Linked DNA regions of Homo sapiens: region 1 is linked to region 2. The links are contacts of gene promoters, found by promoter capture Hi-C in blood cells and fetal thymus (Javierre and others, 2016). All regions are on one chromosome and are shown on one strand. The core of a region is centred on a gene start or on the middle of the fragment in contact, and the rest is flanking DNA. Distances in the headings are between cores, read along the strand shown.

Region 1 (4,106 bases), core at 179-2,678, 120 kb after region 2:
GCAAATCTGGATTCTTTTCCTGCCTCTGTGGTGGAGAGCAAGGTACTTAGTCTCCCTGAGCCTTACCTTCCCCAGCTGTTAAGTGGGGCTAATTAAACCCACCACAAAGCACTGTCATGAGGATTAATGAGATGATGTCTTTATTGGCTGGGCACGTGGCGAGCTCGCAGTGTTGGCTCTTATTGATATGTTTTCAAACTAAAGCTTACTTTGGAGCCCAGTATAGAAAGCAGATAAAGGCCACTGTTTACAACGATCACTTTAGTAGTTAAATTCAACTACAATGCATTTACTTAAAGTCAATCAGTGAGAACTTGAAGATATCTACACAAACGAAAATGTTGAAATGAGCGATCATTGCAAACGTGAATAAGTCTATGTACCCAACATACTTCTGTATTTTATTTTGGTTGCATAATGCTGAGGAAAATCCCAAATCTCACAATAAGCAGCTGCAAATGGTGATAACATTTTTTTTCAGCCTAACTGGCAATCAGAGCTTCAAATAGACCCAGTTGGCCACAGAGACTTTCTTCTATGATCAAATGAAGGTAGCTCCCAAGTAGCAAGCTGGTGGTCTCCAATGGTGGGCATATAACTCATCTTAATGTCATGTGAGCTGTTATTTATTGGTTTTCAAAATGTATTGGGAAAATAAAAAAGTGTCAGCCAACACCATGGTCTGGAAGCTGCTGGGACTGGTGACCTGACTAATCCTTCAGCCTTGAAGGTGTTGTGATTTTGTGAGTTTCTAAACCCCACCGCCCTCTGGGACCGCGCAGTGAGGGCGCTGGAGCGGGTGGGCACGGACCCTCCAGCAGGAGTGTGCTGTTGTGCAAGGCCTGAGGGGGGGGTAGGCGGGGCCTGGCCTTGGTGGTGGGCACTTTCCCTGAGGCCTCTGGGGCAGTGGGCTCGGTACCTCCTTTGGTGCAGGCCCCCAACAGGTTGACCACGTTCAGGTGGGGCCCAAGGTGACTCATGATCTTCAGCTCCGACATAAGGGCTTGCTTCTCACTGCTGCGGGCTGTGGCTGAGGAAAATGGGGGCCCCAGGCCAGGCCCAGTCATGGAGGCTCCATGGAGGCCCCACCACAGGAGCCTATTCTGACTCTTCTGCCCCGCCCTGTGCTGCAAGACCCAGGCAGCCTGGCGGGGGTGAGCACCCACACTCTGAGGAGGGGAAGAGGCCAGGGTAGGGGGAAGCAGGCCGAGGAGGCCAGGGAGAGGAACGCTCTTTCCCAAACCAGACCCAGACTCGGGAGCAGTGCCTGCTGCAGTGTGATGGCCCCTCTAGTGCCTGCAAATCAGCATCAGGCCACCCTGGGAGAGGCTAAGTGTGTGGGGAGGGGCAGGGAGAGGTGAAGGCCCAGATGTGGAGGGCTCCAAGGACTACTCACATTTAAGCATCTTGACGGCCACTTTCATCGTGGCCTGAGAATGGCTCAGGCCATGAGCCGTGGCCTCCACCACCTGCCCAAAGGCCCCAGAGCCGAGGGTGCGTCCTGGTGCAGAGATGATCCATTAGCTCCTGGCCTACCAGGAAGCTGCACCGCTCCCCCAGCTGCCCCCCTCCCCCCACTCCCCTACCCCCGGCCGCTATCACCCTTCCTGCCCAGTGAGGGGAAAGAGCCACTCTCTTAGGTCAACCTAGACATTACTTAAACCACCTTGGACTCAGGATATTCCCTAAACACACTCCTGCAACCACAATACCTCCCTGTCTTTCCTGGTATCTCATCTAAGTCCTGCCTGCTTTCTGCCCCATCTTTAATCTCTGGAAAGTTTCTTCCCTCCCAAGGGAGCACGCTTCTCTGTACCTCCTCAGCTTCCCCAGCCAGACCAGGCCTGCTACTCAGCCTGTCCTCAATCCTTCCACTTTTGCCACATAGGGATCCCGTCTCACAGGGTCACAGGATCATAGAACCTCAATGCTAGGCAGTTCCTGGGGGATGGTCTTGCTCTCATTGTACATAGTAGGAGATGGAGGGCCAGAGAAGGCAAGACACCAGCCCTAGGTCTCATAGCTAGTCATGGCAAGGCTGGGACCAGACCTCAGAGAGTCTTCCCACCCAACTTGAGTCCCCACACTGCCACATGAGGCCTCTCAGGACTGACCCAGCACAAGCTGGTCCCGCGGCAGCTCCCACGTGGAGTCATAGGGCAGCTGCATGGGGTCCACGTAGATGTACTCATGGCCGTCAGAGCTCACAGACTCAATCACCTTCCATCGGATCTCGTAACGTGGCTTCTGGAGGACCAACCCCAGGAATTAGTTATCAGAGGGAGTCTCAGGCCCTGAGCCCCATTAGGTTCGTCCGTCTAGGACACATGGGGCAGGAGACCCTGAGGCCCAGAGAGGGGCAGGGGCATATTTGAAGTCACACAGCAAGTGCTCAACTGAGCCAAGGTCTTCGTGGGCTCGGAGGGAACAGGGACCAAGGGGCCCCAGAGGAGGCTTCAGGACTTGGCAGACTGAGGAGCAACTGGCAGCTGAGGGCCTGGCTCATGAGAACCTCCTCTCTAGCTTCTCTCCCAGCCTTCGCTGCTCCTCAGATGGAAGTAGTAGAGCAGGTGACCCCAGAAAGTGACACCAGGTAGGGTACTCGGCTGGATGCGGATGGCCCTCCCCAGTGCTGGGCAAGTCAGAAAGATGTAAGCTTAGAATGTTGACATCTTAAGGTGTTGGAACCACAGGACTGGAATTTTAGAAAGATGGGATCATGAGGTGCTGTAATCCTGATTCAGGAAGCTTAAAATGTTGGAATCACAGAATGGTAAAATCTCAAAGCAGAACACTGAAATTACAGACTAATAGGATCAGAATGCATTTCAGTAGAATCACAGGTTCTCCATGGGTGAGACCTGGAAGAATCCTGGAGCCCATGCAGTCCACCTCAAAGGTCCCATGCTCCATGGCTAGGATGAGAGGAATGGTGTCTCAGCAGGACCCGGGGACTTAATGACACAGTAGGGGAAGGGAATCCTGGATAGCTCGGGCCAGGCTCAGGTTGGCCCAGACTGCTGGGGGTGGAGGAAGCTGAGACAGCCAGCGTCACAAGTCCCCACCTGAGTTCCATGCTGAGCCCTGCATGTGGCCAGATCACGCAGCATTCAAGGAGGGCAGAGGGGTGGAATTTATGCAAAATAATGATGTGCCAGTCTTCACCCACTGGGCCAGGGAGGGGCTTACCTTCTGCCAAAGCATGATGAGGATGATAAGGGAGATGATGGTGAGCACCACCAGGGCCAGGATGGCTGAGATCACCACCACCTTAAAGGGCAAGGCTGGAGGCAGAGATGAGAGCAGGCCATGAGCAAACTGGGCAGCTACCCTCCCCTCACCCCATCTTTGGCATCATAGATCCCTCCGTACACATCCTGTCCAGAATAGAAGCGCCCACCTCCCCATCAGCCTGCAGTGTCAGACCCTCAGCATCTCGCTCTAGGCCACACGTTCAGACTGTCCTGTAAATACTCCATCCCCTCAGTAACTACCCCCACTCAGATCACTGCTGGCCTCCACGTCCCTTCAGCCCTGCCAGTCAGTCTGGCCTTGCTGCCAGAGCTCTGGACGGGGTGCAAATCCTGTTCTGAGTTCCTGTCCATTGCCTGGACCTCCCATTAGCCCTGGAGCCCCTGAGGGCTGGGTTGTGGCTTACCTCTCCTCTGAGTCCACACCCTTGCTGGGGCTGCCACAGCTCGGTCAGACTCCAAGCTCCATGCCTGACCGAGTGGCCGGTGGACTGAGTGAGTGGCCACTGAGGGAGCAATGGCTGAGACCCCCAGCCTGATGAATCCAGACCTCAGCACGGAGGCCACTTCTCCCCACTTCACCCAAAGGGCCCAGTTGGGGTTGGAGTGGTGACGGTAGTTAACAAAGTGGGGCTCACACTGGCCCTTACAAGCCTCGAGTCTCCTCCACCCTCAAGGCCTCAGCCTCTTCGCTGTACAGCTTCCCACTCTCCTCATCCAGCCCCGCCAGACCTGCCTCTCCCCTGCCCTGCCCTGCTGGCCACCCATGAGGTCCTATGGAACTCATTCCCTCCTCTTCTGTCCCCAATCTATGCTTCTTTGCTCCCTAGGGAGTCCTGTCCCACCTCCTCCTCC
Region 2 (4,568 bases), core at 460-2,959:
GATGGGCAGTGCACTTCAAAGAGGGAATAATATGGTGGGCCTTAAAGAATAAACAAATAGGAACTCATGAGATGAAAGGAAATATTTAACATGAAAGGCAATGAAATACTATATAGGAAATAGAATGTCCTGGTCAGGAACAAAAAATTCTTTGGAGAAGAAAGCAAGGACCAAATCACAGGAAGTCCTAGTCAGGTTTCTAGCTTGCTTTGGGGGCATTAAGAGGCTTTTGACGGTTTTTTGGTTTTGTTTTTCTGGAATGACATGATCAGATTTACAATATAGTCTTTTGGTTGCAGGGTAGAGAACCTAATGGGTAAAGTTGATTTTCCTAAGAGATGGCCTTAAATCTGAAGATAAAAGCAGGCTAAACCAGTAGGCCATATACAGTTTGGATGTTAATTTGAGTGCAATAGGAAGCTATTGAAGGATTTTAAGGAAGGAGAGATGACTGCTGTGTAAAGAATGGAAGGGTATCAGAGAAAAAAGCAGGAGTCCACATGAGATAATGGTGGCTTGGATTAGAGTAGTAATAGAGAGATGGTGAGTAGTAGTCAGTCTGGGGCTATGTTTTTGCAAGCCCTGTGCTGGACCGGATGTGAGGTGAAGGAGGAGTCAAGGATAACGCCCAGGTTTCTGGTTTGAGCACTGAGGAATCCAGCAGATGATGGTGCCATTTACTGAGGTGGGAGGATCTACTGCGTAAACCTCATTTGTTAAGCACTTTACTTGCTTAATATTGCTTACTTGTGGCAGGGCTGGGATTCAAACCCAGGAGGCTCACAACAAAGCTAGCACTCCAAACACTACAGAGTGCTATATAGCTGGTTCTGGGAACTACTAATATTGAGAGGAGACATAGAAAGAGAATGAAGCAAGAGCCAAATCAGACAAGTCTTGGTCAAGCTAAGACGTCTGAATTTTATTTTAAGTGAATGAGACACTGGAGGGTTTTAAGCAGGGAGTGACTTGATCAGACTTACAGTGCAAAATGATCAATCTGACTGCTTCGTGGAGAATGGATTGTAGAGGGGATGTGGGGAGAACTACATCAGTCCAGGCAGGAGATGATGGTGGCTAGAAGGTTGGTGATGGCGGTAGATGCAGAGAAGTAGGCAGACTGGAATACAGTGAGGGTTGTGCGGGAACTTGTACAAATGTGGACAACTTGTGACACTGGAGAGAAAGGACAATCCAATCCAATCCCTATTTGATTTACGGAAGCTCTCCATACGGTCATTCAGCTCAGCTTGAGTCACTCCAGGAACTCACTACCATCACTATTCGTGGGCCAGTGGGAGAGACGGATTGAGGGCAGATCACTGGAGTGATGAAGGCGCTACTTGATGCGGCACTACGTATGAACCCGATCCTGAATGAGAGGGAAAGACTGAGACAGGCTGAGGTCAGGCCTTGAACGTCGTGCTGAGGAGAGGGTGGTATTGTAGGCTTCCCAGCGCCCGACGTGGCTCTGAAAGGTGAGGCGGGGCCTAGATCCCTCACGCTCAGCACAGCCCCGCCCCTGTTACCTGAACGCCCCACAGCAGTGCCCGGGGGCTGAGCGGCCGGGGCGTCCCACCGCCGGCAGCCACAGCTTCCTCCTCCGCCCGGGACCTCTGGCCGGAAGCAGTCCGTTCGCCTTACTAGACCCGCTCCAAGCCTTTGAGCAGTTCGTGTGGGTCCGCTCCCAAGCTAGGGCTGGGCTGTTGCGCTTGCGCCAGGGGTCGCATGCAGTCACGCGCTGCCGACCGCTTCCGGTGCGCCGCGAGGGCCGCCGGGACGGGTCTCCCTGGCGATCCGTGGTGTGCCGCTACTGCCGGTGCAGCCGCCAAACCGGTGCCTCGGTGACGACCGTGTCCCTGCCGTCTTCCTCGAGCTCCCCGGGGCTTGACCCCCGGGGCCCTCGGCAGGCATCGGTGAGGAGCCTGCGGAGCGAACCTGTGCTCCTATTCTTGCCCTTCAGGACCCCATATCGCGACTCCGAGGAGGGGAAGCGAGAGGGGCTGTCGCGACTCCGCGCCGTGTGTCGCCGGGCGGGGCCGCGGGGCCGGGGCTCCTTCAGCCCCCGGGATGCGCGCGCGAGCCCTCGCCTCCACTTCCTTGTTGCTGCTGTCACGACTGGAGCCGCCTCTCGCCGACAGCGGGGAGCGCGAGTGCGCCAGCCATCCCCCTCGTCCAGCCGCCGGGCCAAGCGCCTCCGGGAATGTGAGCGGCGCAGCTTGCACGCTCCTCCGGGTAAGTCCCGCCTTCGAGGGCCGCGCCGAGCCGCTGGGCGACCTCGAGTTGGATGCTGCGGCTCTCTGAGCCTCTACTGAGTCTTCCACAAAGTAGGGCCACTGAGCCTTAGTGTCCTCCTTCCGCAATCCGTATGGGACATTCGGATGTCCCAGACGTCTTAGCTTGACCAAGACTTTGTCTGGTTTGGCTCTTGCTTCATTCATGACCCAGAATGAGGGAAAGGAGCTAGCCCAGAGTCAAACTGTGGCCCATGGCTGAGCCCTCAAAGGCAATCTCGTGAGATTCCAAGGAGGATCTGATGGGACAGAGAAAGTGTCTCGCATATTTCAGGTATTGACCTTAACTCTGTTTTACAGATGAAATAACGGAGACTTAGGGTAAGTAGATTGCTTAAGGTCAGAGGTCCCCGTGCTGGTGCGACTGGTGTAGTCTGTACTAGAACCCGGATTTTCTGTCCTCTAGAGCCCTTCGTTTTTAACCTTAAATTGTCCTGCCTTTTTTTGCATTGCTATACTGCTGCCTCGAGTCTGATAACAAACTTGTACTCAGGCTTAGAACAGGGTAATAAAACAAACAAAACCGTAGGGTGTTGTCTTCCTGCCCTCAGCCCAAGGTGGCTGTAATGAGTGTTTCCTAACCCGTTTTGCGCAGGGTGCTTAGTACCCTATATGCCATTCATTACAGATGCTCTCCTGCAGTTACTGCCCTTCTCCACAAGGCTTTCAGCCGCCCAGAAGTCAATTCAGGGCAAAAAAGCGCAGTCCCCACGTAGCCTTGATTTGAACTACTGCTTCCCTTATCCTTTACTGGCCTATTGCTTACCCAGCCAAGTTGTAGACTGTGTTCTCTTCCTGGGTTGCACTATGGCAGTTAGAATGTAGGTTTTTGTTTTGTTTTTCTTTGTTAGTTTAGTTTTTGTTTTTAATAGGAAGAGGAATCATTTAGAGATGACAGAGAACTAGGAAGAACCTAAGGAATAATGTGTGCTTTACCTGGGGTATATCCTGAAAATTATAGGTGAAATACAGTGTGTCTGCAATTTCTAGGAGAGGTTTTTTGTTGTTGTAGTTGTTTGTTTTTTTAAGCTTTCGCAACATTGTCAAAAGAATTCTTGCCTCCAAAAGACTAGGAGCCACTGGGTTCATCCTTTTCTCACAGTAGAAACAGTTGAAATTTAGGATGTGGAATAGACTTCTCTGAGATCATAAGGTTAGAGTTTAGGTCTCTTGACTCCACATGCAGTGCTCATTATACCTTATTTGTGGAGTGAGGTCTAAATGAGAGGTGTGTGGGCTTTGTACTGCACGTATCAGTCCCATATTTACCACCACAACTGCCTCTTCCCAGAATTCTAAATTTCCTCCTGACAGATTTTCAGGGGCAACTATGTTATTTCCTCTTGTAAAATTCAAGTGGTTTCTGTGAGCCTTTCTCCCTCCAAGGATTGAGACTTGTGGTAAAAGTCCAATTTAGAACTTGGCTACAAAAAAAACTAACTCTTCTTGAACTGGTTATTAAGTTTTTTATGCCTCTTTTCCTAGACATAAAAGCTGTTAGTAGATTCTCTGTTTTTTAGCCCAGCACCAGAGAGCTGATGTTGGTTGGTCAGATGACTGTTTAGATCTGTGCTGTCTCTAGCTCCTAGCATATGTTGCTATTTCAGTTAATTACAATTGGCCAGGTGTGGTGGTGGCTCATGCCTGTAATCCCAGCACTTTGGGAGGCCAAGGCAGGAGGATTGCTTGAGCCTAGGAGTTTGAGACCAGCTTGGATAATATAATGAGATCTCATCTCTACAAACAATTTAAAAATTTGCCAGACTTGGTGGTGCACATGTGTAGTCCCAGCTACTTGGGAGGCCAAGGTGGGAAGATCACTTGAGCCTGGGAGGTGGAGACTGCAGTGAGACAGGATCTCATCACTGCACTGCAGCCCAGGGGACAGAGTGAGACCTTGTCTTAAAAATAAATAAATTTAAAAATAAAACTAATTCAATTCTTCAGTCACACTAGCCATATTTCAAGTGCTCGATAGCCATATGTGGCTGGTGGCTACTATATTTGACAGCACAGATGTAGAACATTTCCATCATCAGAGTTTATTGAACAGTGCTGGTTTGGAGGGTTGCCAGTAGAGATGGATAGCAGTGTAGCATAATGAAAGAAGGCCCAGGGAGTTGGATTTTTGAGTTAAAAATCTATCTCTCAAGTCCCTGCTTGGGCTTGGTGGCCTTGGGAAGGTTGTTAAGCATCTCAGACACAGATAATAGTCTTTAACAGAGGCTAGATGTGGTGGCTCACGCTTGTAATTACAGCACTTTGGGAGGCTGA

What was found. The method cuts DNA at HindIII sites, captures the fragments that hold promoters and counts their contacts. A CHiCAGO score of 5 or more calls a contact.
Region 1: a fragment that was not itself captured here is called in contact with the fragment with the promoter of TIGD6 in region 2 in 5 of 17 cell types (megakaryocytes, endothelial precursors, M2 macrophages and 2 more); the score reaches 11.9 in megakaryocytes.

Annotation. Positions count from the first base shown.
Region 1 is chr5:150,123,331-150,127,436 of GRCh38, forward strand. PDGFRB (platelet derived growth factor receptor beta) reads right to left here. Exons shown (of 23, transcript NM_002609.4): 11 at 3,190-3,284; 12 at 2,115-2,247; 13 at 1,397-1,501; 14 at 920-1,030. Among named protein-coding and RNA genes, the nearest start is that of PDGFRB, 30 kb to the right of the region's middle. The HindIII fragment of the contact is 2,452 bases long and covers 203-2,654 here.
Region 2 is chr5:149,998,945-150,003,512 of GRCh38, forward strand. TIGD6 (tigger transposable element derived 6) reads right to left here and starts at 1,710. Exons shown (of 2, transcript NM_030953.4): 1 at 1,530-1,710. HMGXB3 (HMG-box containing 3) reads left to right here and starts at 1,795. Exons shown (of 20, transcript NM_014983.3): 1 at 1,795-2,235. RefSeq lists enhancers at 934-1,722, 2,610-2,689 and a silencer at 1,450-1,529. The HindIII fragment of the contact is 5,274 bases long and covers 1-3,321 here.